Regions from separate parts of the Homo sapiens genome. Here regions 1, 2, 4, 5, 6 and 7 are each linked to region 3. The links are contacts of gene promoters, found by promoter capture Hi-C in blood cells and fetal thymus (Javierre and others, 2016). All regions are on one chromosome and are shown on one strand. Each heading gives the region's core, a stretch centred on a gene start or on the middle of the fragment in contact. The rest is flanking DNA. Distances are from core to core; before and after follow the strand shown.

Region 1 (3,642 bases), core at 578-3,077, 800 kb after region 3:
TTTTTGAGACAGTCTTGCTCTGTCGCCCAGGCTGGAGTACAGTGGTGTGATCTCAGCTCACTGCAATCTCTGCGTCCTGAGCTCAAGCGATCCTCCCACCTCAGCTGGGATTAGAGTGTGCCGCCACGCCTGGCTAATTTTTAAATATATATATATATATATATTTTTTTTTTTTTTTTTTTTTTTCTGAGACGGAGTCTCGCTCTGTCACCCAGGCTGGAGTGCAATGGCGTGGTCTCGGCTCACTGCAACCTCCGCCTCCCGGGTTCAAGCGATTCTCCTGCCTCAGCCTCCGAAGCAGCTGGGATTACAGGCACCAGCCAGCATGCCCAGCTAATTTTTGTATTTTTAGTAGAGACGGGGTTTCACCATGTTGGCCAGGCTGGTCTCGATCTGCTGACCTCATGATCCGCCCGCCTCGGCCTCCCAAAGTGCTGGAATTACAGGCGTGAGCCACTGCGCCCAGCCAATTTTTAGTTTTTAATTTTTGTAGAGGCGGTTTTTCGCCATGTTGTCCAGGTCTCAAATTCCTGGGCTCAAGTGATCCGCCCACCTCCGCCCCTCAAAGTGCTGAGATCACAGGCGTGAGCCACGGCACTCCGCCGCAATTCCTGACTTGTACTGCCCCAGTGGTGTTACAGCCTCGAACCCAGTTTCCAGACCTAAGTCACCGCCGGCATCCAGAGTCCCATGATGGAAAGGGAGGCTAGGTTCCCCTGGGAAGGACCTTGCACCACTGCTGCAAGTGCACCCCAGAAATCGTCCCAAGCTTTTCTCAAAGGGACCTGCAGCCATTTATAAAAGCGACATATCATCCTGGAAAACAGGTGCGCTCGAGCAGGATTTCCTCCCGTCCTTCCTGTCAAAGGACGGGAAGACTTTGTTACCCCACCGCGCCCCACCTGCAGAATGGTGGACAGATACCTCCAGATGCCACTTCCCCCAGGACGCCCGCCTGCTCTGCGCACCTCTCCCCGGATGCTGCCCCGTGGGCGGGTGGGGGCGGCCCTGCTTCCCCACGACCCCCAGACGCACCCGGAGGGACTCTTGAGCACAGTGGAGTGGGAAGGGCGAGGTGGGGCGGTGCCCAGGCGAGAGCGGCTCATGGGAGGCGGCGCCCGAGACGCAGCTGGTCGGGACGGTGCGGGTCAGGGTGGGCGGAGCGGGGCTAGAGATGCCCCGGGGTTTCCCAGGCCATGAGTCTCCGTGGAGATTTCTCCTCGACCTCTTCCCCGCGGCAATGTGCGAACCCTGGGTCTCCAGGAAACGGGGATACGGGGCATGGCTCCCAGCAAGGCCTGGTCCAGCCTCTCCGGTAGGGGAATGGGTCTCCCCCTCCGGCCTCCCGGGTTGACAAAGGAACGCGGGCCCAGATCCCCGTATGGCGCTTCACCGCCGGGGCCTCTAGCCTAGAAGGAGGCACGGAGCGCGTGTCCGAGACCCGTGCAAGCTCAGGGACACTCTCGCGGTCGCCGGGAGGCCCACCTAGGGTACTTTCCTTTTTTCCACTCTCAGAAATATACGTCTGTCACAGTTAACGGCAAAGCCTAGGGCAAGAGTTCTACGCCCAAGATGGCCAGCCGGAAGCGGGCTTCTCGCGACCATGTGGCGAAGCCCCATTCGTCAGCTGGCCGCCCGCGGCCCTGGTACCCGGTCACCTCTCTGATCTGCGCATGTGCTGGGCTACGCCCGGGCGCAAGCGCCAAGAGCGGCTGCGTCTATGGTCATGACGTCTGACAGAGCGTCCACCCGTCTTCGACAGGACTCTATGGTTCTTACGCGCGCAGACAGACCGCCTATATAAGCCATGCGCAGGCGGAGGAGCGCCTCTTTCCCTTCGGTGTGGTGAGTAAGCGCAGTTGTCGTCTCTTGCGGTGCCGTTGCTGGTTCTCACACCTTTTAGGTCTGTTCTCGTCTTCCGTTCCGACTCTCTCTTTTTCGTTGCAGCCACTGAAGATCCTGGTGTCGCCATGGGCCGCCGCCCCGCCCGTTGGTGAGTCTTGAATCCGTGTACTTTCACTGCTGGGAAACGGGCGGGGAAAGAAGTGCCTATGGCCGCTGAAAACAATTGTGGGGTGGAGCCTCCCCCGTGCGGCGGCCCTGTCTTGGGAACTGACCCTATGTTTTACACCTCCCGGCTATTTTTTAGTCTGCAATATTACTGTCTGTTCCTTCGTTCCCGTGTCGGTGTGGAAGCGACGGTTCCCTCGTATCTCTGCCTGTGTCCTGCAAGCTCACCGCATTTTCGGGCGCTAGATACGCTCTTGGGGCCTTTGTGTGCGTTCTCTGTCTTATTTCCGGGCGACGTGCCGCGTGCGTTGTCGGACGTGAAGGGCAGTCCGGGAAAAACGGGTGCGGCCGCCTCCTGTGTCCTACAGGGGGCGCCAGACGCATTTCCACTCGGCTTGGAGGTGGATTTAGTGCCACGTGCCCGAAAGTCTTAAATTGGGTGACCTGAGCTGTGCAATGATAATGCGGCGATTTTGTAGTACGCAGTGTCTTGAAGAGAGAATTTTTAACTAGGAAAGTTTGTTGCAAAGTGTTTATAGGAAGCGTAAGACAAAGTAACGGAAGATGGTGTCTGTTGTTTCTAGTCTTGGGTGTTGTCTGTGTTGCAGCAGCCAACTGTTGCTTTGTAGTTTATTTCCCCGAATGGAAACGGTTTAGAAGTGGACGTGCATTCCCCACCCTTTTCCCGTCCCTCGTTTGGGTTGTTCCTTGAGGGGCAAAGTGCCTGTTGGGCTTTCTGTGAACCTCACCTAACCTGTGTTTTTTCACTCCCCTGCAGTTACCGGTATTGTAAGAACAAGCCGTACCCAAAGTCTCGCTTCTGCCGAGGTGTCCCTGGTAAGTAGTGGAAGAGCCCCTGCACTGGTTGGCTCTGCGGACTCCGCGTCCGTCTGTGACACCCCCTGCACACTTACCCAATCCTTTTAGATGCCAAGATTCGCATTTTTGACCTGGGGCGGAAAAAGGCAAAAGTGGATGAGTTTCCGCTTTGTGGCCACATGGTGTCAGATGAATATGAGCAGCTGTCCTCTGAAGGTAAGGCAGGATTCTTTGTTCGTCACCCCCCAGTCCTTCCTCCGTGCTCCCTCAACCCCACCCACATACACTGCACTGGAATTGGGAGTTGATGAAACATGAGCCTTACAAAACTCAGCCAACACAGTTCCCCTGAGCTGGAGATAGTCGTGGTGAATGTTTCTCTATTATCTTCTCTCACTTTGCTGCTTTTCTTCTCCCTACCTAGCCCTGGAGGCTGCCCGAATTTGTGCCAATAAGTACATGGTAAAAAGTTGTGGCAAAGATGGCTTCCATATCCGGGTGCGGCTCCACCCCTTCCACGTCATCCGCATCAACAAGATGTTGTCCTGTGCTGGGGCTGACAGGTGAGCTTGGTCTGGGCCTTTTAAGGCAGTTGGAGTCTCTACATTATTAGGCTTGCATTATTTTATCAGAGCATAGAGGTGGCCCCAGTGACTCAGCCACTATGGCTACTAGAAAAGCCAGGCTGGCAAGTGACTTTCAGTGGTCACTCAGGACCCCTTCCTGCAGATACAAACAAAGCATGAGTAAGTCTTAGCAAGCTCTTCCCCACAGGTTAGGGGAAACACTGGTGATGGGAGTAGCTCTTCTTGC
Region 2 (3,205 bases), core at 298-2,797, 880 kb after region 3:
ATTGGGAGGTGCCCCAGCTGCAAATAAACTCAGACTTGGAATAGTAGCGCAGTTTTATTTTCTGTAGTAACAAACATTTAAGAACCAGATAAAACATGAGGCCCTCCCAGGAAAGTAGCAACTGTGGGAATTCCTGCCCTAGGGAAGGATGGACGCACTGCCTACAAGGAGACGCAAAGTGGGACCTCGCTCCATTTGCCCAGGCCAGGCTTAGCGGGAAACGGGGGGCCCAAAGCGCTGCATGGTCCGCACCACCAGGGAAAGCTGGTCAAGAAAGTTGATGACGGAAATTCGGAGCAGGCGACAGTCTTCAGCTTTCCAGCGGCTAAAAGTGAGGGGAAAAGAAAATCAAATTGGAGGTGGCAACTCCTGGTCCCTCGCTCTGCCCCTCAGGCACCCAATATAGCAAACCCTTGGGAGCCCTGCCATTACACAGCCCCTCAGGCAGAGACCGGCCCAGCGCACCTGGCGCTCCTTAGGGCTCATCCTTGGATGTCCCCCATGTCTCCATGGGCCGCCTCCCCCAACCCCGTCCCTTTCAGAACTTACACGACCAGGATCCTGCCACTCACTGTGAGATCCTTCCCAACCACCCTTTGGTGGGGCTCGGCATCTGGTGCCAGGGACCCATGGGCGATTTCCGCCTCCAAGGGGGTCGGGAAAGGCACGCTGAGGGTGCTGGGGGTCATTCGGTTAAGGTGCCATCTGATACGATCTTGCCTATGTCTCAGGCCTTCTTGCTCCTCTGAAGCCCCCTCTCAGGTCACCCTGCCTAGTGTCACCCCCTTCACTCCTTACCTCGCCCAGGCCACCGTTAGCAGAGCTTCTCCCTCCATTTCAATGTCTTCCCCTCCTCCGACCACCTCTGACCGTATACGCCAGCCCCGGTCCCCCCCTGCTACCCTTTCCGTCGGCCCCCCGCCCGCCCTCCTTTCCTTCTCCCCGAGTCCAGCCCTCGCTCCGCCGCAAGCAGCCCCCAGCTCGGAAAGGATACAATATGTGCGGCCGCATTCGTGACCCCCTGGCCGCAGACGCGGCGTCTCTGCCCGGACCTGGCGCGTGCGCTGGGGGAGCTCCACCGGCCGGAGCTGCGGCTGTGTCCACGCCCCCGCGGCAGCTGTGGCCACCCCGGCCATCCCCGCCGTCAGCGCCTCCGCCTGCGTCTGCATCCGCGTCCCGCATGACCGCCGCCGCGCCGCTCCGACTCCACCCCCGAAGCGCAGGTCCTACGCCCCGCCCTCTCTGTGGCTCCTTCCCGAAGCCCCGCCCCCTGCGCACGACTCCGCCCACACGCGCCTGCGCAGGTCCCTGGAGAGCCTGACTGGCGCGTGGTCAGTTCCCGCCAAGCGGCCCTGCCGGGGGCCTTCTGAGACCCGGTCAGCGGTTGAGAGGCTGCGGTTTCCTCCAGAAACTCTGCCCTTTCGCGCGTAACTCGATTCCAGAGCGCTGGTGCAAACTGACCCACAGTCGGTCCGGCCCCAGGAAGCCAACCCTGACGGGGCTTTTGAAGACACCGTGGTCGCCTATCCCAGAGGCGCACCCCGCGAGGCTCCGCCCCTAAGCGCGCCTTGTGACCTTAGCGCGCCTGCGCTGGCGGGGCCTTCCCCCTTGTCCCTGGAGGCCCCAGTGAGGCCCTGCGGTGCCTGGACGGCTTCCCGCCCCGTTTCTTACCTGGACCCAAGAGCCCCAGGAGATGTGGCACAACGTCCATGTTGCGATTCGCAGAGGGAGGGTGGCCGGGTCGGGTAACCCCCAAGGATACTGCTCTTGCCCTCAACCCCAGTGCCCAACCAACGGGGCTTCACCATGGACTGTGAAGCATCGGATGTGCATTTTAGAGGAAGCATTTTAGAGCGGGTGGGCTGTGCAGAGCGGGGGAGCCTGTCAGCAGGAGGCCTGCACGGAGGCGAAAAATGACAGGGCCTTGAATGAAAGTACTGGCGGTGGGTCTAGGTCTAATATAACGTGAAAAATCAGACTGCACAACTATGAGTATGAAAATGCCAGTTTAGGCCAGGCAAAGTGGCCCCCGCTTGGAATCCCAGCACTTTGGAAGGCCAAGGGAGGAGGATCACTTGAGCCCAGGAGTTCAAGACAAACACAGGCAACATAGTGAGACCCCGTCTCTACAAAAAATACAAAAATAAATTTTAAAAGTTAGCTGGGAGTGGTGGAGCGTGCCTGTAGTCATAGCTTCTTGGAGGCTGAGGAGGGTTGATTGCTTGAGCCCGGGAGTTCGACACCAGCCTGGGCAACATAGTGAAACCCTGCCTCTACAAAAAATACAAAAATTAGCTGGGTGTGATGGTGCACACCTGTGGTCCCAGCTACTAGGGAGGCTGAGATGGGAGGACAGCCTGAGCCCGGGAGGCAGAGGCTGCAGTTAGCCGTGATCGCCCCACCGCACTCCAGCCTGGTTGATAGAGCCAGACCCCGCCTCAAAAAATAAAAGAAAATGCCAACTTAGTCTCTTACTGTACATATGTAGAGAAATCCTAGAACAATACAGCGTCAGGTAAATCCTCATGATCTCTGCTAATAGTATGGTGGGTGACTTTAATTTCCTTTTTGTGTTTTCCCTCCAATTTTTCCGAAGTGGTCTTTTATGACATTTACAATAAAAAAAAAAGTATTTAAAGTGACATCAGTCCGGGCACGGTGGCTCACGCCTATAATCCCAGTACTTTGGGAGGCCGAGGCGGGTGGATCACTTGAAGTCAGGAGTTCAACACCATCCTGGCCAACATGGTGAAACCCCCGGCCCTACTAAAAATAACAAAAATTAGCTGCGTGTCGTGGTGTGCGCCTGTAGTCCCAGCTATTCGGGAGGCTGGGACAGAAGAATCACTTGAACCCGGGAGGTGGAGGTTGTGGTGAGCCGACATCACGCCACTGCACTCCAGCCTGGGCGACAGAGGGAGACTGTCTCAAAAAGAAAAATAATAAAAATAAAAAATGAATAAATAAAGTGACATAAAATTTCCAACAGTGTTTGTCATGTTTGGACAACCTATTTTCCTCCTTTGCAGTCATAAGGAAGGATTAAACACTGAACTATATCAGCAAATCCTGTTGGGTTTCCCTCTGAAATAGGTTCCACATCAGCCCACTTCTCGCTCTCCACTGCTAGTCTGCTGTGGAAGCCAGCATCTTTCCTTGACCTCCCTCAACAGCTTCCTGGCTGATTCTCTTTTACACTTTCCCC
Region 3 (3,646 bases), core at 1,056-3,555:
CACATTGAAAAGTGGGCTGGGCATGCTGGTTTACGCCTGTAATCCCAGCACTTTGGGAGGCTGAGGCAGAAGGATTGCTTGAGCCCAGGAATTCGAGACCAGCCTAGGCAACAGAGTGAGACCCTGTCTCTACAAAAAAGAGAAAGAAAAAAATTTTTAAGGTGAACAAAACTCAAAACACCAGAGCAGGATTCAGTGGATTCTACTTAGGGGTTAAAGCCCATCCCCAGCCCATCCCTGAATGGCTCCTAAGAAAATCACTGCCCTGGTGCACAGAACCAAAACAAATTCACAACCACCAGGGTTCACAAGACAAGGTTAAATGACATCCACTAGGCCAAAACAGAAAGGCGAAGAACAACCGACAATCAACCATGAAATGACAGTCAGCATCCTCTGCCTAAGAAGGTAGATCAGTTCCCTAGGGCTACTGCAACAAATCACCACAAATTCAGCCACTTAAACAACACACATTTATACTCCTCCGATCCTGGAAGTCAGAAGTCCAAAACTAGCCTAGAAAGCTAAGATCAACGTCTAAGCAGGGCTGGCTCCTTCTGGAGGCTCCATGGGAGAATGTTTCCTTGCCTTTTCCAGCTTCTAGAGGAGGGCTGCATTCCTTGGTTGCTGGCCCCTTCCTCCATCTTCAAAGCTTCTAACTCTGCTTCTGTCCTCACGTGGCCTTCTCTGACGGTGACTCCTCCTGCCTTTGCCTTATAAGGATGGGTGTGGTTACACCCAGATAATCTAGGATGATCTCCCATCTTAAGGTCTCTAATCACATCTTCAAAATCTCTTTTGCTATATAAGATGACATTCACAGGTTCCAGGGATTAGGATAGGGACATCTTTGGGAAATCAATATTTAGCCTCCTACAAAGGACAAAGGATTGTGTAATACATTTTATAAAGAAGTCCCTCAGAAGGTCTAAACTTGTTATATAAAGACAATTCCTACCTGGGACCCCTCATTCCAGGAGATGCCAGATAAGGTGCTGTTACTGACATGACCTTCCAAGCTTTGTTTTACAGAGCAAACCCCAATTTACACGGACCCTCCGAGCAGACGGTAGCAGATGAGGTGTCACTGCCATCCTTCCCTAATAATAACTTTGCAACTCTTCTTGCAAATTACAGTAAATTTACATATCACTGGGATGAACAGTCCTGCAGCAGTCCTCAGACTCTCCGCCCACCTTGGGTAGAAAGCACATCTGCCCAACCCTTCTCCCCCAAGCAGTAAAGGTAGGAAATAACTACCCGCCAACTAACAGTATCTCCTATCAAGATACTGTTGATGGGCCGGACGAGGTAGCTCACGCCTGTAATCCCAGCACTTTGGGAGGGCGAGGCAACTGGATCACCTGAGGCCAGGAGTTCAAGACCAGCCTGGCCAACATGGTGAAACCCCGTCTCTACTAAAAATACAAACATTAGCCGGGTACGGTGGCACACACCTGTAATTCCAGCTACTCGGAAGCGTGAGGAAGGATAATTGCTTTAGTCCGGGAGACGGAGGTTGCAGTGAGCCGAGATCACGCCACTGCACTCCAGCCTGGCCAACAGAGCGAGACTCCGTCTCGAAAAAAAAAAAAATACTGTTGATGGCTGGATGGAAACGATGTTTCTACAGAGATCTTAGCTTAATCACCTCGCCTGGGAAGCGCGGAGCCCAACACTACTGTGGATGTCCTGGCAGGGTTCGGAACAGGAGCTGCAAGCAGCCTAGGTCCCCGGAGTGACAGGAACCCTCGGACAGCGTTCTCCAAAAGGCTCCGCGCGACTAAGCGCCATAAAGTCTACCGGAGTGCAGGGCCGCGGGTGCCGGCAGAAGGCGTGGCGCACTGCGCAGAGCTGCGGGCGCCCGGGCCGGTCTCCGCCTCGCTGGAGGCCCAACCCGGCCACGTCCTCTCCTAGGGCCTGCACACCGGTCCACGCCATGGGGATACCTCGCGGCTCACTGCTCAGCACACCGGGCGCGGCGCAAAGGCGGAGGTCCTCAGCCCCGAGCAGGGCTTCCCGGCCTCTGCTACGGTGAGCACTCCAGAAGGCCGGCCTGGCCAGCCGGGCCCGCTCCGCGAAGCGGGCCGCGGCGCCGCCTGTCCTGGCCTCCCCCGGCCGCGGTTACCTGCCTCCATGATGAACCTCGCCACTCGGAAGTGCACCCTGGCTTCGGGCGCCGGCTGCCCCTCCGGGCCCCGCGCTGCAGGCCCCCCTCCGCCGCCCTCCGGGGCTTCCATGAGGCGCCGCGGCACCGGCGGAAGGAGAGGCGGCCCCGGCGCGCAGAAGCCGGCAGAACTGGAGGTGCTCGCGGCGGGCGCTGCCGCCCCACCCGGCCGCGTCCGGCCCCGCCCCGCCCCGCCCCTCGCCGCCCCGCCCCGCCCCTCGCCGCCCCGCCCCGCCCCTCGCCGCCCCGCCGCTCCTCCGCCCCGCCCCGCCCCTCAGGGCCCTCGCCCAAGGGTGAGCGCGCGCTTGCGCCACAGACGCTGCCTGGCCGCGCGCGCAGGCGCAGGCGCAGGCGCAGAGGCCGACACCACGGGGCGGCTGGTATGTGTCCACCGGCCCCTAGGCGCCTCGAGCCCCGCCCCTGGGAGACGCAGGCTCCTCCCCGCGGAGCGAGAGCCCGCGGAGCTGCTCCGAGACCCGCGGGAGGGCACCTCCGGTCACCCGAGCCGCAAATCCCCGCCGTCCGAAGGGGGTGTCGCCCCGGGCTGTCGGCCCAGCGTGGCTTAGGCCAGGTACAACCGGCAGCGCCCGCCAAGCCCTGGGCTAGGGACGCCTGCGGGAGTTCACGGGGAGGCGCCGGTGTCTGAGGTCTGAGAAGACAGCGGCCACCGGAAAAGGTGCTAATGTTTGCAGACCCCGATCCATCGACACCCCAAGGAAATGCTGTGCACAAAATTCCAAGAGGGCCTTTTCGAATAGACGCATGAACGGTGTTTGTGTCTGGATCGTCCAGCCTCCCGGGATCGATTGGGAATCTAGCTTCTGCTTGCCTTTCCAGCGCGACGCACAGTAGGAGCCTAATAAATGTTTGCTGAATGAATGCTGAATATCGAACTCAGGTATTTACCATCTCATTTTTCATTCGCGTCTTCCACAAGCAGGAAATGGTGCATCAGGCTTTAGGGACATAGAACCCCAAAGGTACTCACTCCCAAGTTAGTGACAGTCACTGGAGTCATTCTGATACATTCAGATCATTGCTACAATTTCAGACAGCTGGCAATATGGAGAGGAAAAAGCTACTGCTCCCTAAACCCTTCTGCCCAGGCGCCTTGATCTCCTGATGGTGTGGAAGTCTCCACCTCTTACCCCCACCCCACACACCCAGTCCGGCCTCATTCTCCTTCCTCAGCACTTCCTGCCTCCACCAGCCTCCCCAAGTCCTCTCTCCATCCCAGCTGGGTTAGTTTCCTGGGGCTGCTGTAACAAATGACCACAAATTGGGTTGCTAAAAACAGCAGAAGTATATCCTCTCTCAATTCTGGAGGCCAGACACCTGAAATGGAGGTGACACTAGGGCTTTGCTCCCTCAAAGGCTCTGGCAGAGGATCAGTTCTTCCTTGCTCTTCCAGCTTCTGCAGCCTGAGTTCTTCCTGGGCTTGTGGCCCCATCACTCCAATCTGTGCCTCCGTCTCTACAT
Region 4 (3,592 bases), core at 525-3,024, 670 kb before region 3:
CAGGAGTTTGAGACCAACCTAGGTAACATAGCAAGACCCCATCTCTACAAAAAAATAAAAAATAAAAATTAAAAATTAGTTGGGAGCATTGATGTACACCTGTAGTCCCAGCTACTTGGGAGGCTGAGGTGGGAGGACTGCCTGAGCCCAGGAGTTTGAGGCTGCAATGAGCTGTGACCGCACCCTTACACTCTAGCCTGGGTGACAGAGCAAGACCCTGTCTCTAAAACAAGAAAAAAAAGAGAGAAAGAATGGAGGAGAATTAGATTGTGCTGTATTATAGATTTAAAAGGCACTTTGACATTTATTCCACAAAATTCCTTTCGATGTTTAATCCCCATCATATGGTTGTCATTGCAAGGTGGCTTTTTAAGTTTGCTCAGGTTGCCATAACAAATAAAGGCTAGAGATTCAGGGTCCGGGGCAAGCTCCCAACAGGAGGCTCAGCTTGATGCTTCTGATAGTTCTTTCCTCCAATTCTGGTCACTCAATATTTGGAGCTCACCCAGGCAGCTTCCAGGAAAGCTGCTGGCTGATCCTGACCCTGGAGGGCCGTCTTCTCTGACCCTACCACGTTAGGTGCTGCACTGGACCAAGCAGCCACCATCAGTACTCCCAGGCCCAGCTCCTATCTGCCTGGTGTCTGAGAAGCCCAGCCCGTGAGGAACAATGACTCAATCAAACTCAGGGTCCTGCAGCACTTCAGAAAAGGCTGGTTTGTGGCAGAGTGGAAGAGGAGAATGTCACAGCCTTGTCCCCAGGCACAGACCTATCGAGGCTACCCTCTCCCCACCCCCTGCCCTGCCCTGTTTCCCTTAGCTACAGTGCAAAGGTCAGCTCCTCATAACTCTTGCCCCCCTTGCAACCTGAACCCAGTTTAGGGACCCTCTCTTGGAGAAACTGGTTCTACACATGCACCCCTTCTCGGCCCCCAGGCCTGGCTGCTTTACCCGAAGCACTGGTCAAGCTTGCCTCACCTGACCAGGGCATGGCCTCCTGGGTCCCGGTCCTAGGCTCTGCCCAGCATGCTGCCTGGCAGAGCGTCTGGGGAGCAGGGAGTAGGAGCACAGCTTCTGGCACAGGACAAAACCCTGGCTTTGCATCAGACTGACTGTGTGACCTTGAGCAAGTCTCTTCATCTCTCCATGCATCAGTTTCCCCGTGGATAAAATAGGGAGAGCAGTAATAGCTACTTCCCAAGGCTGTCCCAAATGCTAAATGAGATCGTGCACCTGAAGTACTTACCACAGTGCCTGGGTGCTGGTATCCTCGGGGGCTCCCAGTCATAGGCGTGCTGAGCTGCAGGGCCCTTATTCAAATACAGGAAGAGATCAATATCTCCACCTGCTGGCATTTGAGGGAAATGTGGCCAAAGGCAGTGAAAAGGAGGTATCCCCTCGCCCCACATCCCCGCCTCCTCGCTCTTTGGCAGAATGAGTCACACACTGTTTGGCACAGGCCACAGTTGGTCGCATTCCCACAGGTGGCTGTGATCAGTTTTGGGCTTCAGGCTTCAGCAGATGCCTGCCTCTCTTCCTTGGGTGCCTTCCAAGGGTGTGCAGCCTTCCAGCGTGGTCCTGGACTTCAGCTTGGACTGGAGCTGTCTGTGGTTGAGAGTCTGGGGAGATGGTGGGGTAGCGGGTTGTGGGGGAGGAGAGACCCTTGTATTAGTTTACTGGAGCTGCTGTAACAAGGTACCAGAAACTGAGTGGCTTAAAACCACACGCATTTATCCTCTCACAATTCTGGAGGCTGGAAGTCTGAGATCAAGGTGTCGGAAGGGCCATGCTCCCTCCAAAGGCTCTGGGGGAAAATCTGTTCCATACCTTTCTCTTACCTTTTGTTGCCTGCAATCCTTGGTGTTTCCTGGCTTGCGCCCGCCTCACTCCCATCTCGGCCTCTGTCTTCGCGCAGCCGTCTTCCCTCTGTGTCTGCCCACATTGCCCTAGTCTGACATCAGTCACTGGAGCAGGCTGGGGTGACACTTTGTTCCCATTTCCTCTGTGACAGAGCCAGAAACGCCAGTGAGAAAATATGTTGTGCTTGCCTGTGACATCCCTGTTCCCTGGCACCACCTGATTTAAATGAGGCAGCCAGGGGTTTTATACTGTCATCATAAATGACATCATCCTCAACAACGATGTCATCGTCGTTATCACGAGAGGAGATGGGGAGAAGTCAGAGCTGTCTGTGTGTCTAGGGCCCCTCCTGGCTTTCATGATGGGAGAGGCCTTGTCCTTGGTAGCCCTTCCATTTCCCTCTGGTCACTTTGAGCACTCCAGGCCCTGGCCAGGGTGGAAGTGGAGGGACAGAGATGAGCAGCCCGCTGACCCAGCCCTCCATGGCTCATTCCTTGCTTTCACCTTGGCCACTCCATCCCCTACCCCTCCTGGGACCCCTGAGTGGCCTCTTTAAAGTGCCAGTCTGAACCTATAAACCCCCCACCTCCACTTCAAGCCCATCCTGCATCTTCCCTTTGCCATACCAGATCTAGTCTGTACATTCAGGACCCCTGCCAGCCTCTACCTCCTCCTCCTCCCCCGATCTCCCTTCAGCTGGCCTGGGTCGGGCTATGCCTCCATGAAGCTTGTCCACTGCTCCCATGGCTAAACCTGTTCTGGGCCCTGCAGCACAGCAAGGTCAGTTTCCATGCCTCTCTGCCCCTGCCTGACCCTGCTGGGCCCAGAGCTTCACCAGGGCAGGCCTGGGGCTCAGGCTTGTCTGCACTTCCAGGGCCCAGGGACAAAGGCAGGAGTGACTGCAATGTGGCTTGGAATTAGGCTTTGCTCCATGGACCTAAGGAGGTCTGGTTTGGGGTGAAGGGTCCACCCCCAGAAAGCCTGGGAGCTCTATATTCTCTCTGGCCCTGGCCACACCATGGCCAAGCCTGCTGGGCGTCATGCCTTGCAGTACGGCCAGAGAATGCATCAGACTTGGAGGGATGTGTGTCCGGGGTGGCCTGTGGTCATCTGGGGGAGGGCTCTGAGCGTGGCTGGCAAGAGGAAAGCTCAAAGGGGCCCTTTGTCCTCATCCCCGAGTCTGCGACATCCCCTCCCACTGGTTTTCATTCCATATTTGGTCTGTGGGTTTTCTCAGTCTCTCGTACCCCTCAGTCCCCACCAGTCCATGAATGCAGAACTACCCCTGGCCTCACAAATGGCCACTTTGGATACCCTGGTGGGGTCACAGGCTGCGGTTGCCCCTGCAAATGGTTGGTAGAAGCACGGGTTGGGAGGTTTCATTTCTACCCAGAAGGGCCCTTGCTGTGCCTGAGGGAGGGCTGGGCTCAGGTCAGGGGTGGGAGACCGGGGAAGGGGCCTACAGGTCAGTGGCCCGAGCTCAGCTGCAGCACCAACAAGGCTCAAGGCCAAGGAGGAGATGAGAGCACATCAAAAGGGGGCAGTGGGTCTGGGCGGCCCACCGCACTCACCAGCCCAAGAAGGGGGAGACTTTTCTCACCTGCAACCCACTGGGTCTCTCCTTTGGCCCGCAGCTCAAGAGGTGAGGAAATTGTCCGCCTGCAGATCCTGACACCCAGGGCAGGACTCCGCCTGGTGGCCCCAGACGTGGAAGGCATGAGGTATGGGGGTCC
Region 5 (3,578 bases), core at 228-2,727, 640 kb before region 3:
CCTCTGGTCCTTTTCTGTGTGAGGCCAGAGGTCCTTGCTTTATCACTGCCTGGAGCTGCAGTTGATGATGGTGAAAGAAGGTGCACGTGTCTTTTGAGAGCTCCCTTTGTTCCCCAGAGATTTTTTTTTCCCAAAGTGGCCATGAGTTTGGGAATAACCAGGAGCCATGGGCCGCCGGCTAGAGATGCTGCATACTAAGAGCCTCCTGTGAGCAGCCATGTACACAGTGAACACGATGGCTAAGGCCCCATCCAGCCGCCCTCAAAGAGCACATAGTCCACTAAGGAATAAGCATGATCGTAATAACCATTAGCACCTGCTGTGTGCTGAGAATGTGCAGGCACTGTTCTGCATGCCTTATGTGGACTCACTCATTTAATTCTCACACCAACTCAAGGAGGTGCTTTTATTATGGAGAAACTGAGGCAGATGGAGGTTAAGTAATTTGCTGGCAGTTTTGCAGCCAGGAAGTGGCCTAACCGAGATTAGAATCCAGACAGAGATCAGAGCCTGTACTGTTCATCGCTGTGGCATCCATACTGCCCCTCCATTTGTGATAAGCCCAGGAAGGAAAGAAACCAGGTGCTCTGATGGAGAGGGGTTAGAGCAAGGATGGTTAGGGAAAGCTTTTCTATCGAGGAGGAGACAGTTCGGCTGAGACCTGAAACATCTGGAGGAGCCTGCCTTCCAAAGAACCTGGGGAGAGGCATTGTGGACAAAGAAGATAGGGAGGAGGGCCTGAACAATGAGCCCTGTGCTTGGAGGGTACGGGGTGAGGTGAGCAGGGGGCAGGAGCTGGGCCCTGTAGGGTCTTGTAGGTGAGGGAGAGGAGGCTATTGGGAGGGCTCCTATTGCTCACATTGCAGTCCTGGGGGGATGCCCAGGGCATTTTTTCTTTTTTTTAAGAGGCGGTGTTTCACTGTGTTACCCAGGTTGTTTTTGAATTCCTGGCCTCAAGTGATCTTCCTGCCTCAGCTTCCCAAGTAGCTCCAGGGAATTTCTGTTTTACCTTGCCTCTTCAGTTGCGCCGTCCCCTTCAGTATTCTGCTGACATGGATCACAGGATACCAGACACCTGGTAGTTGTTCAGTCAGTAGGAGGTCTTCCTTCCTTCCTCTTAGAATCAATCCTTTTCTCACTTGTTGGCTCTGCATTTTATCCCCCGTGTATCTTTTCAGATTTTTGTGGGGCCTCCTCTCCCATCCAGTCCACCTTCTCCAGTCTCTATGGTATATTTCTTTGTCATAGGGTGAAGCAGGAACAGGTACAGGATGATTGGGTACACTGAGGTGAGGTAGGAGGGCAGGCCCTCAGGAAGGGCTTCCCAGAGGAGGTGATATTGTCTGCAAAGGCATATGAGAGCCTGGAAGTCCAGGGGAACTGCAGGCTGGTCTGTACGGCTTGAGTGGCACGTGATACAGTTTGAGACTATGAGGCGAGAGAGCTAGGCAGATGCTAGACCATGATTGTTCTTCCCTTTCCCCACTCTTCAACTAGTTGTAATCTTAGGCATTGGATTCTCTGGCAAGGGGACAATACCCAGTAGCCTGGGCCAGATGGAGGCAGCCATATCTGGAGTATGATCTGAGCCACAGCATGTTGGAGAAAAGCCAGAATCAGCCCAGGGCAGTGTGCACCCATAGTGCTGGCCTCAGGCCTTTGGAGGGTGAGCAGACTTAAGTTGGAAGGTGCAAACAAGTGGTCAGTGGTGCTGCCCAACATCGTGCCCTGAACTGCAGTTGACAGCTACGGCAGCTTTGGTAATGAGGCTCATAGCCTGGGGGCAGGCAGAGTGAGAGCCGATATTGGCTTGGCCAGAGAAAAGCCCTTTTGGGCTGCCGAGGAGGTTGGATTCCAGGCCAAGGGCCATATCTGGCAGCTGAAGTGTGGAGGTTCAGAAAAACTTCGACACCGGTCAGTTTCCCGCCTCTGCTGGGAATGAGGTGCATCTGACTTTCCTCCTCAATGATGCCTAATTTCATTTGGTCCTCTGCCCCTTGGCCTTGTGTTCTCTAGAGAGTTCCCTGCAGGGTGGCAGAAGGAGCTGATCCTAGTAAGGGACCGTCCCATCCAGTGAGGAGGTGAGCTGGGCTGTGTCTTCCCCTTCTGCACCCTCCTGACTGTCACATCCCCGGGAGCCCCATGATTCCACTCTAACTGAGTGAATCACAGAGGCCAAGGCCCTTGGCTGCAGTCAGGAGTACTGAGTGGACACTGGAAGATTGGGGTCTTGCTACTGACTCACGATGTGACCTGGGACATGTCTCAACTCACCTAGCCTGGGTTTGCTTATCTGTAAAGTGAGAAGTTCCATTTGTTGGTCTTGGAGGAAGCTTCAAGAGCAGTGCTCAAGGGTTAGGCTCAGAAAAGCCTGTTTGACCCTGGAAGGTGTCAGCTCCCAGGTTGACGTGCCCACCCCTCCCTTTATTTCTTTCAGGGTGAGGAGCCCCTCGAGCTGCATGGTCACTGTTACTGTCACTGCCACATCTGAGCAGCCTCACATTTATATTCCAGCCCCCGCAAGTGAATTGGACTCCAGCTCTACCACGTAAGAAGGGCTATCTAGCAACCTGGGAGATGTTCCTCCGCCACTTCCTCCTTGGCGGTAAAGGACTTGGCTTTTGTTCCATGTTGCTTCCCATTTAGTGCCTTCCCCAGTTTCTAGCAGGCCATTAGCCAAGGGGCCACACAGGACAGTGTTAGTCCCCTAATATAAACTCCCATCTACCGGGCCTAGACATTCCCACACCTCCTTTTTCCTATCTCTGTAAGAGGCTGCAGTGGTACTTCCTAGTGCACTAGTGGATGTGGCTCTGCCATTCATGGGTCCATGCCTGGGAAGCCAGCTCCAGTCCGTGAAGGCCGGGCCTGTGAGGGCATTCCTGTGTTACTGTAAAGGAATACCTGAGGCTGGGACATTTATAAAGGAAAGAGGTTTAATTGGCTCACAGTTTGGCAGGCTGCACAAGCATGGCACCAGCAGCTGCTTGGCTTCTGGCAAAGGCCTCGGGAAGCTTATAATCATGGTGGAAGCCGAAGTGGGAGCAGGACCATCACATGGCACGAGCAGGAACAAGAGTGAGGAAGGGGAGGGCCCGGACTTTGAAACAACCAGATCTTGTGTGAACTAACTGAATGAGAACTCACTTTTCACTAAGGGGATGGTGCTAGCTGTTCATGAGGGATCCCCCCATGATCCCGTCACCTCCCTCCAAGCCCCACCTCCAACACTGGGAATCACATTTCAACATGAGGTTTGTCTGTCTCTGTCACATGCCCACTGCTTCACCTGCATTCCTGGCCACCTGTCAGGGTGCAGGAAGGGATGTCACTGCAGGAAGGCTGCTCAGTGAGGTGTGTGTGTTGGGGGCGGGAGGGGGGCATATCCAAGGGGGCCTCTGCAGACATCAGGTCAGCAGGCTGGAGTGTGCAGCATGGAAATGGGGGAAAATTTGGGGCCATCCTGAGCCCAGCATGATGCAGACCTTGTTTCCAGTCCTGCAGAGGCCAGTCCAGGATGAGGCAACCTCTAGGCCTCTGGACTCTAGGAGTGAGAATGGAGAGGTTAGATGTGAGGT
Region 6 (3,386 bases), core at 13-2,512, 770 kb before region 3:
CGTGCTGGTTGCATAGGTAAACGTGTGCCACGGTGGTTTGCTGCACCTATCAACCCATCACCTAGGTGTTAAGCCCCACATGCATTAGCTATTTATCCTGATGTTCTCCCTCCCCCCACACCCCCACCCCCACTGCCACCGACAGGCCCCTATGTATATTGTCCCCTTCCCTGTAACTACGTGTTCTCTCTGTTCAGCTCCCACTCACGAGTGAGAACAAGTGGTGTTTGGTTTCCTGTTCCTGGGTTAGTTTGCTGAGGATAATGGCTTCCAGCTCCATCCATGTCCCTGCAAAGGACATGATCTCGTTTAATTAACTTTTTTTCAAAAGAGTGTTTCCAGGGTTACAGTTAACAGTAAAATTGGAGGCAGGGCCCAGTCTTTTCACTCCTTTCCAATATTATGTCTTTTATCCAATCATATGCCTCTTATTAGAAAATCACAATACAACAAAGGTCAAATCCTCCTAGGAAATGCTATCAACACACTTTGGGGACAGTAATGATAAAAGCTTCATGGACCCACATTTAACAACAAAGCTTATGTGATAACTGTAGCAAAAGAATGGGAGTAAGACTGAACACTTCTGAATCCTCTTGTTCTTGAATACCTTCAAGCCAGGTCCTCTCTGTAAGTTTGTATTTCACCTCCAGTGATTCTGAGTAGGCACAACTCTTCTCCCCATCACACAGACATCAAACTCCAGGCACCTAGAGAAGTAGCTTGCCCCAAATTGCCCGATGAGGAAGTGGGTGTGTGTGAGAATCCAGGGTTTGGGCTAGTCTGGGCTCTTCCCCCAAGTTTTTCTTAAGGAGCAGTCCCTCGGCATGAGACTCATCTGGGGGATATGGTAAACTTCATATTCCTGGGCCCCCAAGTCCTACAGGATGTCAGGGTCCAGAGGCATGAGACCGAGGGCCAGGCTTCTGGCCTCTGTAACGTGCTCCCCGGGTAGGGTTACCAGTGGCAATACAGGATGCTTAGGTAAATTTGCATTTAAGATCAACAATGAATAAACAAAAAATACAAATGGGATATAGTCATACTAAAAAAAAGGCATCATTGATCTGAAATGCAAATTTACCTCAACTTTCTTTTTATTAGCTGAATCAGGCAACCCTATCCCCAGAGGACTAGCCTACCCCCAGAAGTTTGAAAATCTGTTTTCTCCCTCTCCATGTGAACAAACGAGCATTCCATCATTGTTCATTTTCTATTCTCCCTCACCCCTTCTGCCTCCCCACTCTCACCCTGGAGCAGAGACTTTAATGTCATCTACCAGGATTTCTCACACAGGGAATCCCGGGCAAGGCCAGGAAGATGGTTGGATGGGGTCACTCAGCCCAACCCACCTCCAAGAGTCGATGAGATACCATAAGCAAATAAATTCACGAGAGGTTGGCTGAATCCATCCTAGTGTTGCGTTAGCCTGGCTCTCCCCATTTTATTCAAGCACAAATTACTAACAAGACTCTTTTCCAGTCTTAGCTTTGCCAAAACTATTTTTAGAGCATCATTTAGGCTTAGGTGATATAAAAATTCTGCTAGTTTTACAAACCAGCAGCCTTCCAAGGCAAAAAGCAATTCATGCCAGGAAAGTAGCAAAGGATTATTCATTTTCTGTCCATAGGCTGGTAAGGAGTTTTGTATCTAATAGGCTGCCTTCAACACAATAATTGAGAAGAGGAACTCATAAGCAAAGCTAAAGAACTCATCCTTAGAGAATACAAGTTCAAACTGAGAAAGGTTTTACTTTTAAGACAAAACAAATAGCATTAACACACATCCAAATGCCAGTGCAGGAGTTCACTGGGTTTATAAAAGAGAAAACTAAACTCAAGTGTCAAATAAAAACTGGAGCCGTCAAGAATGACTGCTTGTGGCAACACAGGTGTAACATGTGCTTGTCTAAAGTCGTTCTGTGTTTGTGGATATGTGGAAATGCATGACGAGGGAAACGATGCAAGGCAAAATGGCAGGTGCTCAAAGCTTTAAGATCCTTTTCTTCACGCTTGTGTGCTCTTGTTTTGCTTTTGAGAATTAGGGTAATTCGCAGGTCATTTTACAAAGAACTGTAATATCAAAGAACACTTCCAAACGGCTAAAATAGGCTCAAGGTCACTATTAAAGTGATAAAGGGAGGTCCGTGGGGGAAAAGTTTGTGTTCTCAAAAGCCAGATTTCACACCATGGCAGGCACTAAATCTAGTTACATGTGCTTGCAGTAGAAAAAGAAGACACTGATCTTAATAGAGGCTGGTCTTTTTCATGATGCGCAGGAACTCTTGCTCACTGACCTCTCCATCTCCATCTCGATCAGCTTCATCAATCATTTCCTATATGACAGTAAAGATTCAGGTTAATTTATAAACTAATGCCAAAAGGTGACTAAGTAATAGACTTTTTTTTTTTTAGAGATGGGGTCTCTATGCTGCCCACACTGGTCTCAAATTCCTGGCCACAAGAGATCCTCCTGCCTCAGCCTCCCAAAGTACTGGGATTATATGCATGATCCACTGTGCCTGGCAAGCAATAGACTTTTAATCTATGTGAATAGATAATTTGTATCTATGTGAATAGATCATTGTAGTCCACCCAATGCCAGTATGCTACTCCTGATAATAGCTTGGTTTCTGAAAAGTTATTTGAAAACCAACTCATACTTTGTCAAACATATCACCTGGGAGGGACCTTGAAGATTGCCTTGACTAGAGGGATTCCTGGAACCTAAAATAGTAAGCAAAATTGTGCATATGTGCATTTTTCTGGAAGCAGGGTTCATAGGTTTGTCTGACTATTAAAGGAGAATTAAGTTGTCTGCAGAGGGACAAAGTACACTGGCTTTTCTTCAAAGAGGTGCTCACACTAGGGAAAATGTAATGGAAAAGTCACAGAGGGCTCAAAGGTGGGAATTTTAAGTTCCAGTGTGATGCATTACAAACCTGCAGCTCCTCATCAGTCAGGTTCTCACCCAACTCCTTGGCCACGCGTTTCAGATTTTTGAACGAAATCTTCCCAGTTTCATCATCATCAAAGAGCTTGAAAGCTTTCAGGATTTCTTCTTTAGTATCTTTCTCAGACTTAACAAGTAGAACATAAAACACATGAGTAGGGGGACACCACGGTTGGTTACTACTGTCCTGTAGCCCTGCCACTGCCTGGTCAGGTCACCCTTTCCTTTTTAACAATGTAACTCGAGTCTAGACTTGCGGCAAGTGTCAGGAAGCCCATTTTGGCCTCAAAGAAACACCAGGCAAGCCAGGCACTCCATCCAAGGTGACGTTTGCTACCTATCGCTATATCTCTCCCTATCCCATATCTATTTCCTAACTGATTTGGAATTCTGTGGGAAGAGGTATCTGCTTGGAAGTCTTGAGAAAGAAGCAC
Region 7 (3,317 bases), core at 818-3,317, 950 kb after region 3:
CTCTCCTTTTCTAAGTTCTGATCAGAAGTACAAAGGTGTCAAGGAGTAGGTTTGACAAAGTGTGACAGCGCGTTGTTCTATGTGAACAAAGAACCACTGAGCTCAGCCAGCACTGAGGGGCGCACGATGTGGAAGAACTAACTAGTTTTGATAGAGCTCCTGCTCAAGGTTACAAGGTAAGTTAATGGCAAAGATGGTCATACAGTAATGAGCAGAGAGATTCTTGAGTGCATCCAGGGTTAAAAGTGAAAACTGAGACCACGTGTAATTTGAGATGAAGCCCTTGTTCCACCAGCCCCTGCACAGTCTCACTGCCCCATGGGACACAGGGGAGGGTGCTCTAGTCTCGGGCGATGGCTGTCCTAGGACCACCCCTCCCTCCCCTCCCATGGAAATCCTCATGCTATACTATTCTTTTGTCTTTCCTATGAGTGCAGAATGGCGGTTCTACAAGCTGGACAATTGGGGCCAGGTGGGGTGAGGCAGAGCTCCTTGGTAGGCTTTCGAAATTGAGGCAAAGAGACAGTGTTCAAAGAAAAGCTAAGTGTTTGTATCGACGGAACTTGAAGTGTTAGTGAAGAGGCAGAGATCAGGCCTCAGATCCTGCCTTTGGAACTCATTTGTTAAGGCATGAACAGGTCTGAAAAAACTACAGAATGAATAGCATTCCCTGTTTTCCCCAAGAAGTCCATCTAGACAGTCCCTAAAGAGCCTGCAACTCCAGGATTAAGGGCTACATTCAGCGGCTAGGCACAGGGTTCAGAAACGTCCTGCAGCCGGGCGTGGTGGCTCATGCCTGTCATCCCAGCACTTTGGGAGGCCGAGGCGGGCGGATCACTTGAGGTCAGGAGTTTGAGACCAGCCTGGTCAACATGGTGAAACTCCGTCTCTACTAACAATACAAAAATTAGCCGGGTGTGGTGGTGCATGCCTGTAATCTCAGCTACTTGGGGGGCTGAGGCAGGAGAATCGCTTGAACCCAGGAGGCCGAGGTTGCAGTGAGCCAAGATGGCGCCACTGCACCCCATCCTGGGCGACCAGAGCAAAACTCCGTCTCCAAAAAAAAAAAAAAAAAAAAGTCTTGCAAGTGCATATGCACACCAGGTAGAGCCGGGATGATCCTGGCGCACTAGCAGGAGCGGGAGGAGGAGCTCAACTTAGCAGAGCCTGTGGGGCCCTGCAACAATTAGTTGGAAAAGCTGAGGCATGGAGCAGGCACTTCCTGGCTTTTAAGATTGGGGCCTGGGAGATACTCACCGATGCACCCATGATGATGAATATGTGTGTATCCGACTGATGGAAGGCATCGCCCTGGAAAAGCTCTTCCCGCAGGATCCCGCACACCTGGGTCCGGCTCAGGGCCACCTGCTCTGCCATGACGCTGTCTGGTGGAAGAAAGGCTCGTTAACAAGGCAGAAGAACAGGAGAGCATTGAGAAGTTAGCCCCTTTCTTGAGAGTTCCTCTGGGGTCTCACACCAGGGTGACACCTGATTGCCCAAATCACTCCTTGTGAACGGCTGGGCATTGGGGAGTGGTTGATGGGTTAGAAACTGCTGGCTCTGGGCTCCAGCCACTCTCTCCTAGGCAGCCTTCATTCAGGGTGTACATTACAAAATTACTCAAAGCATTGGTGTATTCCGACTACAGCATCAATTCTGGACAACCGAGTAAAATCCTTGTGGGGCATGGAACTGCGTGCCCAGGACCATCTCATTCCCGACTGTAGCGGGAACTCCACAATGACCTGGAGCATGGGAGATGGTGCAGATGCTGGAGTTCAGCTCCAGCCCTCCCCTTGCCAAGCTGGGTGACCCCGGTCGGCAAGTCCCCTTCGCTCTCGGGGTCTCAGGGGCTCAAGAGAGGAGGTGCGGGGTATAAAGGGATTGGTTAAGACCCTCTCGATTCTGCTCGGTTCTCAAGCACAACAAACAGCGTGTATTTTACCGCCGCGCGGCGCAGCGCGGGACAGTACGCTCCTCCGCCTGCGCGGCGCCCGCCCGGCCGGTTACCTGCGCTTCGTCGTCGTCGCCCTCCGCGCTCGCAGCCCCGAAGTGTACGACCGTTTCCGGGGGCTGAGCCCCGCCGGCCCATTTAATCGGCGGGGGCGGGGGCGGGCGCCTGGGCTGAGCGGACCCGCCTCAGGCGAGGCGTGCGGGGCGGGGCCTCGGCCACCACCCCTCGTGCGGGCGGGGCGGGGCGAGGGCAGGTGCGCGCGCATCCCAGGCCAGCCCCTGCCTCTCGGGCACCTGCGCTGGAGGCCGGCCCGCCGGCTGCCTGCCATACCCGCTGCCGCTGCTCTGCATCCCCAATTCCGGCGGGCACGGGTGCAGCTCCGCGTAGTGCTCCCGCATCCCCATCGCCGGCCCGGCCCCGCCCCTACTGTCCGGTTTCCCCGCCTGCCCCGGCGGCCTCGCGCGCTCGCGGAGGGCTCCACTTCCGCCGGCAGCGTGGCCACGCCTCCTCTGGGCTGTCCCTCGGCTCCTGGGCGGGGCCTTCTGCCGCGCCACTCCCCCGGGAACCCTCGCCTGTTCGCGGGTCAAGCCGGCCCTATTGGGCAGTCTCTTCTTGATTCCTCCCCCGGAGAGGGCGGGGCGGCCGAGCGCCCCGAGGCTAGACGCCGCCGTCCGAGAGACGAGGGGGCGTGTAGGCGGTGACGCCCTGCAAAGTGGCCGGCGTGCTTATCATTACCGAGCTTCCGCGGGCCTGCAGAGCCTGGCGGACTCAGACTTCTCTCCGGAGCGGGATGCGGCCCTACCGCGGCCTCACACTTCTCGCCGGCTTCCCGAGTTCTCGGGGGCGGGGCTTGTGTTTTTACTTCCGGATCCCACAGCTATGACACCGGAAGCCGGAAGCGTGGTAGGGAAGGGCGACCGCGAAACTGGGACTTTCTCGGAGCGCCGGGGCCCTACCAGCGTTCACAGTCCGCCGCTCCCACCCTTCTCACGTCTGACGGACTCTGCTGACAGGTGTGGTCCTTTTCCCCAAAGACAGGGTTCCATCCGTGGGCGTTCCGCCGCCTCCGAAACTTCCCCCGGACGTTCAGGCTCCCCCCTCTTTTTTGGGCCCCAGCCCGTTCCTGCTCCGCGCTTCTGGAGCACTGGCCAAGGCGGGCCGATTCAGGACCCAGGTTACTTGGGCGGCGAGCTGGACTGTTTCTACTCCTCCCTCCTCCTCCACTGCGGGGTCTGACCCTACTCCTTGTGTGAGGACTCCTCTAGTTCAGAGACATATTCTGTTCACCAAACTTGACTGCGCTCTATCGAGGTCGTTAAATTCTTCGGAAATGCCTCACATATAGTTTGGCAGCTAGGTATCT

Evidence for each region. The method cuts DNA at HindIII sites, captures the fragments that hold promoters and counts their contacts. A CHiCAGO score of 5 or more calls a contact.
Region 1: a contact is called between the fragment with the promoter of RPL10 here and the fragment with the promoter of CCNQ in region 3, in 7 of 17 cell types (fetal thymus, non-activated CD4 T cells, naive B cells and 4 more). The highest score is 12.0, in fetal thymus.
Region 2: the fragment with the promoter of LAGE3 here is called in contact with the fragment with the promoter of CCNQ in region 3 in 4 of 17 cell types (total B cells, non-activated CD4 T cells, neutrophils and 1 more); the score reaches 9.6 in total B cells.
Region 4: a fragment that was not itself captured here is called in contact with the fragment with the promoter of CCNQ in region 3 in 5 of 17 cell types (neutrophils, activated CD4 T cells, erythroblasts and 2 more); the score reaches 10.5 in neutrophils.
Region 5: a fragment that was not itself captured here is called in contact with the fragment with the promoter of CCNQ in region 3 in 16 of 17 cell types (activated CD4 T cells, total CD4 T cells, naive CD8 T cells and 13 more); the score reaches 19.4 in activated CD4 T cells.
Region 6: a fragment that was not itself captured here is called in contact with the fragment with the promoter of CCNQ in region 3 in 1 of 17 cell types (neutrophils); the score reaches 7.2 in neutrophils.
Region 7: a contact is called between the fragment with the promoter of G6PD here and the fragment with the promoter of CCNQ in region 3, in 1 of 17 cell types (non-activated CD4 T cells). The highest score is 6.5, in non-activated CD4 T cells.

The regions. Positions count from the first base shown.
Region 1 is chrX:154,396,550-154,400,191 of GRCh38, forward strand. It overlaps RPL10 (ribosomal protein L10), which reads left to right and starts at 1,828. Exons shown (of 7, transcript NM_006013.5): 1 at 1,828-1,845; 2 at 1,948-1,993; 3 at 2,789-2,847; 4 at 2,938-3,045; 5 at 3,254-3,392. The coding sequence starts at 1,971. LOC124905228 (a long non-coding RNA gene) reads right to left here and starts at 2,293. Exons shown (of 2, transcript XR_007068356.1): 1 at 1,036-2,293. RefSeq lists silencers at 871-1,050, 1,121-1,190 and enhancers at 1,193-1,738, 1,751-1,960, 2,283-2,828, 2,829-3,372, 3,373-3,642. The HindIII fragment of the contact is 9,726 bases long and covers 768-3,642 here.
Region 2 is chrX:154,477,734-154,480,938 of GRCh38, forward strand. LAGE3 (L antigen family member 3) reads right to left here and starts at 1,548. Exons shown (of 3, transcript NM_006014.5): 1 at 995-1,548; 2 at 550-678; 3 at 42-325. The coding sequence starts at 1,182. The coding sequence ends at 211. It overlaps PLXNA3 (plexin A3), which reads left to right. Exons shown (of 33, transcript NM_017514.5): 33 at 1-46. RefSeq lists a silencer at 942-1,161 and an enhancer at 1,423-1,922. The HindIII fragment of the contact is 14,076 bases long and covers 1-3,205 here.
Region 3 is chrX:153,596,834-153,600,479 of GRCh38, forward strand. It overlaps CCNQ (cyclin Q), which reads right to left and starts at 2,306. Exons shown (of 5, transcript NM_152274.5): 1 at 2,129-2,306. The coding sequence starts at 2,240. LOC105373383 (a long non-coding RNA gene) reads left to right here and starts at 2,507. Exons shown (of 1, transcript NR_131982.1): 1 at 2,507-3,060. RefSeq lists silencers at 2,017-2,376, 2,387-2,436, 2,537-2,676. The HindIII fragment of the contact is 8,000 bases long and covers 1,018-3,646 here.
Region 4 is chrX:152,925,082-152,928,673 of GRCh38, forward strand. ZNF185 (zinc finger protein 185 with LIM domain) reads left to right here. Exons shown (of 25, transcript NM_001395254.1): 13 at 3,494-3,580. It overlaps LOC124905237 (a long non-coding RNA gene), which reads right to left and starts at 2,077. Exons shown (of 2, transcript XR_007068368.1): 1 at 1,838-2,077; 2 at 268-1,618. The HindIII fragment of the contact is 1,619 bases long and covers 966-2,584 here.
Region 5 is chrX:152,961,402-152,964,979 of GRCh38, forward strand. ZNF185 (zinc finger protein 185 with LIM domain) reads left to right here. Exons shown (of 25, transcript NM_001395254.1): 20 at 2,438-2,548. Among named protein-coding and RNA genes, the nearest start is that of PNMA5, 31 kb to the right of the region's middle. The HindIII fragment of the contact is 1,707 bases long and covers 625-2,331 here.
Region 6 is chrX:152,825,596-152,828,981 of GRCh38, forward strand. It overlaps CETN2 (centrin 2), which reads right to left. Exons shown (of 5, transcript NM_004344.3): 4 at 2,942-3,079; 5 at 1,399-2,335. The coding sequence ends at 2,246. Among named protein-coding and RNA genes, the nearest start is that of CETN2, 3.5 kb to the right of the region's middle. The HindIII fragment of the contact is 1,450 bases long and covers 538-1,987 here.
Region 7 is chrX:154,544,779-154,548,095 of GRCh38, forward strand. G6PD (glucose-6-phosphate dehydrogenase) reads right to left here and starts at 2,068. Exons shown (of 13, transcript NM_001360016.2): 1 at 2,011-2,068; 2 at 1,258-1,385. The coding sequence starts at 1,377. It overlaps IKBKG (inhibitor of nuclear factor kappa B kinase regulatory subunit gamma), which reads left to right and starts at 2,842. Exons shown (of 10, transcript NM_001099857.5): 1 at 2,842-2,967. RefSeq lists enhancers at 1,104-1,647, 2,950-3,229 and a silencer at 1,950-2,509. The HindIII fragment of the contact is 7,888 bases long and covers 1-3,317 here.